2 separate regions of the Homo sapiens genome follow, and region 1 is linked to region 2. Evidence: promoter capture Hi-C in human tissues and cell types (Jung and others, 2019). All regions are on one chromosome and are shown on one strand. Each heading gives the region's core, a stretch centred on a gene start or on the middle of the fragment in contact. The rest is flanking DNA. Distances are from core to core; before and after follow the strand shown.

What was found. The method cuts DNA at HindIII sites, captures the fragments that hold promoters and counts their contacts. A contact is called where the count stands out against the background at its distance.
Region 1: the fragment with the promoter of CYP2D6 here is called in contact with the fragment with the promoter of NFAM1 in region 2 in 10 of the 25 tissues and cell types used here (H1 embryonic stem cells, IMR-90 fibroblasts, adrenal gland and 7 more).

The regions. Positions count from the first base shown.
Region 1 is chr22:42,129,560-42,132,664 of GRCh38, forward strand. It overlaps CYP2D6 (cytochrome P450 family 2 subfamily D member 6 (gene/pseudogene)), which reads right to left and starts at 1,251. Exons shown (of 9, transcript NM_000106.6): 1 at 1,053-1,251; 2 at 179-350. The coding sequence starts at 1,232. RefSeq lists promoters at 1,257-1,723, 1,310-2,842 and a cis regulatory region at 2,536-2,547. The HindIII fragment of the contact is 22,528 bases long and covers 1-3,105 here.
Region 2 is chr22:42,430,882-42,433,895 of GRCh38, forward strand. It overlaps NFAM1 (NFAT activating protein with ITAM motif 1), which reads right to left and starts at 1,522. Exons shown (of 6, transcript NM_145912.8): 1 at 1,356-1,522. The coding sequence starts at 1,476. The HindIII fragment of the contact is 19,415 bases long and covers 1-3,014 here.

The sequences.
Region 1 (3,105 bases), core at 1-2,500, 300 kb before region 2:
GCCCCGCCCTCGTCCCCATGCTCACACCTCCCTAGTGCAGGTGGTTTCTTGGCCCGCTGTCCCCACTCGCTGGCCTGTTTCATGTCCACGACCCCGCGCCCTCTCTGCCCAGCTCGGACTACGGTCATCACCCACCCGGGTCCCACGGAAATCTGTCTCTGTCCCCACCGCTGCTTGCCTTGGGAACGCGGCCCGAAACCCAGGATCTGGGTGATGGGCACAGGCGGGCGGTCGGCGGTGTCCTCGCCGTGGGTCACCAGCGCCTCGCGCACGGCCGCCAGCCCATTGAGCACGACCACCGGCGTCCAGGCCAGCTGCAGGCTGAACACGTCCCCGAAGCGGCGCCGCAACTGCAGAGGGAGGGTCAGGGCCTCTTGTCAAGCCAGGATCACCCCAGACTACAGGTCCTAGTCCTATTTGAACCTTGGACGACCCCCGGGGCTACCAGGAGTGAGCAGGTGGAAGGAGGAGACCCAGCCTCCTGATCGTGGGGCGGGGGTGGGGGTCACACCTTCTGTGATGGAGGAACTCAGTTTGGATGCGTCACCCAGGTATGACCTTGCAAGAGTCACCAAAATTGCCGAGAGGCCCCAGTTAGCATCCCATTCCCAGATGATGGTCCATGCCGGTGAGCAGTGAGGCCCGAGGACCCACAGTGCAAAAGGTTTGAACCGGGTCACTGCACCCCCTTCATCCTCGATTTCGTGATTTAAACGGCACTCAGGACTAACTCATCTTCCATTCCCAAGGCCTTTCCTTCTGGTGTCAGCAGAAGGGACTTTGTACTCCATAACATATGTTGCCCAATGGGCTTGCATGCCCACTGCCAAGTCCAGCTCCACCTCCAGGCCCTTGCCCTACTCTTCCTTGGCCTTTGGAAAATCCAGTCCTTCATGCCATGTATAAATGCCCTTCTCCAGGACGTCCCCCAAACCTGCTTCCCCTTCTCAGCCTGGCTTCTGGTCCAGCCTGTGGTTTCACCCACCATCCATGTTTGCTTCTGGTAGGGGAGCCTCAGCACCTCTGCCGCCCTCCAGGACCTCCTCCCTCACCTGGTCGAAGCAGTATGGTGTGTTCTGGAAGTCCACATGCAGCAGGTTGCCCAGCCCGGGCAGTGGCAGGGGGCCTGGTGGGTAGCGTGCAGCCCAGCGTTGGCGCCGGTGCATCAGGTCCACCAGGAGCAGGAAGATGGCCACTATCACGGCCAGGGGCACCAGTGCTTCTAGCCCCATACCTGCCTCACTACCAAATGGGCTCCTCTGGACACACCTGGCACCCCCACCCCACCAGGCACAGAGGACCAGGCAGGACACTCTCAGCACACCGAGCGCGTGACCCTTCCCTTATAAAGGGAGCTGATGATGGCCTTTGCCCTCTGCTGTGAGTGAACCTGCTGTGTTGACTGTGCTGCCAGTGGCAGAGTCAGGCCAGGGCGGGTATGGGCTGCTCCAGAGGTTCTTGCCCCTGCTTCCTGCTCCAGGCCCTTACCCAGGGTAGGCCGGTGGAGGGGCCTGGTCGGAGAAGTCACCCCCTCTCCCCACTCCAAGCTCCTGAAGCCTGCAAAGCCTTCTGGGATAACCAGGGTTTCAGTGGACCCGGCCATCCACCTCCCAGCTAGGCTCATACACCCTAATGTAGTCACAACCCCTCCTCCAGAACATGGCCTTGCCCTTTCCCTACCCCCACCTGCCCACTCCAGAGTGACCTTCAGCACCCTTATCTGTCACTGGCACTTACCTGGGGCCTTAGAGCTCCTGATGATGAGTGGCATCATGGGCCTGGTCCCTTCACTTCACCTTGCACTCTTGACATGCACAGACGCTATGCACACACCTGATGGTGCACAGATCTCTTGTCCACTCCCAGACACTTGTCCACTTGTTCACACTTGCAGGGACACGATTACACACGCAGAAAATCACCCACACAAAGACAATATTCACACATACACAGACTCACACTGACACTTAGGGCACACATTCTCTCTCACACACACCAGTCACACACACATACAGACCCGGCACCAAGTACCCCACTTCCCAGCCATGCCGGAGGTTTCCTGGATGGGACCACTCCTGTCCAGAGGCTGCTCCCAGCCCAGCCCACATTCCTGGGCTCTGGCCGGGCTATGGCTTCTTGTTTGCAACAGGGCTGTTCCCAGAGCTCCCAGTTGGTAGCCGGAAGGCCCTTGCCCCAGCCTGTGACAACATCCTCCCGGGCTGCCTGAGGGTCGTCCTCCTCCACTGCTTTCTGGCCTCCATGTTTCTGATTAGAAATCTGGTGGGAACGTTATGGAGGATCCTTTGTTCAGGATATGTTGCTTTATTTTTTTTTTCTTTAGACAGGGTCTCACTCTGTTGCCCAGGCCGGAGTGCAGTGGCAGGATCATGGCTCACTGCAGTCTCGACATCAAGTGGACCCCCTGCCTCCCAAGTAGCTGGGACTACAGGCACCACCCAGCCTAATTCTTTTTTTTTTTTTTTTTTTTTTGGAGACGGAGATTTCCTCTTGTTGCCCAGGCTGGTGGCTCCCCTCCATTGTGCAATGATGCAATCTCGGCTCACTACAACCTTCACCTCTAGGCTTCAAGCAATTCTCCTGCCTCAGCCTCCTAAGTAGCTGGGATTACAGGTGTGTGCCACCACGTCTAGCTTTTTGTATTTTCAGTAGAGATAGGGTTTCACCATGTTGGCCAGGCTAGTCTTGAACTCCTGACTTCAGGTGATCCACCCACCTCAGGCTCCCAAAGTGCTGGGATTATAGGCATGAGCCACCGCACCCAATCCCAGCTAATTTTGTATTTTTTGTAGAGACCGGGTTCTTCCAAGTTGTCCAGGCTGGTCTTGAATTCCTGGGGTGAAGCGATCCTCCCACCTGGGCCTCCCAAAGTGCTGGGATTACAGGCCTGAGCCACTGTGACTACCTGATACGTCTCTTCTCTCTTGCTGCTTTCAAAATCCTGTCTTTTGTGGGAGGGCAGCTGCCGAGCTCTGGACTTCTACGGGATCATCCACTGAGGACAGGAGGACCGGGCCCTCTACAGGTGGATTGTATGGCAGCTGCCATGCTTGGAGCCAGTGCTCACCGAGCACGTGGCGGCTGTGG
Region 2 (3,014 bases), core at 272-2,771:
AGTTGAGACACATTGACACTAACAGGCTGCATTTCCGGGGTCTGGCCGTGTTTGCACCAACTGTCTGGGGTGTGGGGCGAGGCGTGCACAGGATTAAAGGAGATGGTGTCCTAGGGCTCTGGGCTGCAGCCTGGGGAGGTACACACAGGTCAGCCTTTGCCTCCCCAGGGTAAGTTTCCGGTGAAGAACATTCTTTACAAGTAAGAGGATCCTCTGAGCCTACTGGCCGAGGGGCCCAGCTTGGGGCTGAGGCTGGCCTGGGGCTGAGGCTGGCCTCTACTTACCGGCTAGGTCTTGAGCAAACGAACTGGCTTCCCTGGGCCTCCTTTTCCCTGTCCTTAAAATGGTGCAGGTGAGGACAATAGGAGCCCCAAGGGGTGCTGTGAGGGTGGCCAGTACGTGCCCTGCTAAGGGCTCCATAAAGCCTAATTTGTGGTCATGAGAGGGGGTGCAGCAGGACAGGGTGGGGGCAGCTCTTGAAAGCCCCATAAACTAAGAGAATAGAAAGGAAGGCACCCTGTCTCCACAGTGGAGGCCACCCCTTTGGCCAGAGGGAGGGTTGGCTGCTGCCCGGCCAAGGAGGGGCAGAGAGAATCTGGCAGAATTCACTGAGCCCTCGTGCTGGCAGCCCTGGAATGGGACCCTCCTGGGCCGTCCCTGGCCTGATGAACTGGCCCTGAGGCTACCTACCCCACAGCTTGGCTCGGATCCCGGCCACCCAGCTTCCAAGAAAGCCTGGAACCAGGAAAGGAGCGCCGCTGGCGTGGAAAGACACACTTGCATCCTAAAACACTTGGCCTCTGGTTGTGTTTCAGGAACTGGGAGGTGAGACCCTTTCTGGTGACTGACAGTTTTGTGCCTCTGGGCGCAGAGCCCTGTGGCTGGCCCTGGTATCCCCCCCTCCCCCCTCTCCCCGCTCTCCCTGGCCAATGCCAGCAACAACCCAGAGGGTAGCCCCACCACTTGCCAGGTTCAACGCAGTGTCCCCCGCAGCAGCCACGTGAGGTTCCTCGGATGGGGAGCTGTCCCTCCCCCCTGCCCCGCCCCTGGCCCCAGCCACACAGCGCCCACCCTCCTTGTTTAAGGGCCAGGAGGCCAGACTGCTGGGGCAAAGCTGTCACAGCAGCGAGGGAGAGAGCGCTGTCCCCCTCCCCTTCAAAAGCCACCTTGGCAAGGCATTAGCTAAACATCTTCTCGGTCCCAGAAGGCTTCCCCTGTGAAGTCTGCAGCGTTCAAACGACAACCAGCAAATCCCCAGAGACAGGTCCCTGGGAATTAGCTGCGCCGGGCGGGATGAAAGCCGCTCTGATGTTCTGGAGCGAGAGAGTAGAGAGAAGGAGGAAGACAGACACTACCTGCCAGTCGCAGGGTCCCGGGCAGCAGCAGCACGCCAAGGAGGAGCCAGGGGGCTGCGGGGAGCCCAGGAGGGCGTGGGAGGCCTGGCAGGGCCCGCCACCTCACAGGCTGGTTCTCCATCTGGGGGCCTGCTTGTCTGCGGCGACTCTTTAGTTCACAGGAGGGGACGGCCGGCGCTGACAGCTTCCCCTTTGCTTTCCCCACGAAGCTCCTCCCTGGCAGCCCCTGACCTTCCGCTCAGAAGCAAAGCTGGAACAGCCCAGCAGGGTGGCCGCCAGATGAGGAACCTGGCACTGAGACTGGTCCAGGCCACACAACCAGAAGAAGAGCTGGAGACGGGACCCAAGCCTCCCCACTCCAACCCCTGGTGGGCTTCACCCTGTCTCGGCCCCTTTCCAGCAGGGGCCCCGTCCAGGAGACACTGGTAACTGTGCAGAGGGATCATGGGATTTCCATGAGTGACTTCGGGCCTTGGTTTAGCCTCTCACTTCTGAAACACTTTTAAAACGACCACAAGCATGTTCACACAAACTTCTCTAAAATATTCTGAGAATCCCTTAATAATGTGTTTACCAAAGGTAGGTTTTTTGGTGAGGGGTGGTAGGGAGGCTGGGGTGAAGGGCAGGAGCCTCATGTTCCCAGCCCTAGAGAGGGCCAAACACCCAGGGCAGGTGAAAGGCAGGCTGCCCATCATTCACCCAGCGAGAACCTCTGTGGGTCCCCTGCAGAGGCCCAGGAGACGCCTCCTCTCTGGTCCATCTCTAACGTCAGCTCCTCCCTGTGGCTGCCCTAAAGCTTAGCTCACTCGGCCTCCCAACTGTGAGACCCTCGAACTGCTTCCCCATTGGCTGCAGGTCACAGCCCCTGCTCTCACTTCTAGCAGCATCAGCCGGGGACAGGAATTGTTTGCTGCCGGGACCCCCTTCCCCAGCAGACTGGGAGCCCCTCACCCTTGGCACCCACACATCTGCCTGCGTGTCTGGAGTGGCAGAGGAAAGGGGCTGGGGTGTGGTGATGGCTGGTGGAGCTGGAGGCACCTGGTACATGGAAGACGCAGGCGGGAAGGTGGCTGAGTTTCAGCGCATGCTGAGCGCTTACCTCCCTTCTCTGCAGGTGTCCCTTCACTCACCAGATAAATGTGATGATCCCAGTTGTACAAAAGAGAAGACCTCGGCCCCAGGAGGCAAAACAACATGCCTAGGATCAGGGCAGGTCTGTGGGGCGGGCATTTGAACTGCCAGTGGTATGATGTCCGAGCCTTCTCCCACCCTGCTACTGCCTGCTCAGGTGTGTCCAGCTGCAGCCCCCGGTGACGGCATCATGAGATCCATTTCAGTTCTTTGCACACATGCTTTTCCCTGGGCTGCTCCAAACATGAACAGTGAAAGCCTAAAGACGTTTCCACCAATGCCACGAGCACTGGGAGGCTGGCAAGAGCAGGGGCCGCCCACCAGGGGAGGAAGACATATGAACAGGAGAAGTTTCCTACCGCGCAGGGGGCAGGCGGGGACCCCAGTGTTATTGACTGTTGATCCATCACAGTGATACATGCTCACATATGTCACAGTGAGATGCAGACCCGCTGCTTCACGCTATTCCTGGCTCCTGGGAGTAGCAGGTTGTCTAAGCACCTTGATGCCATGGTGATAGACCTCGTG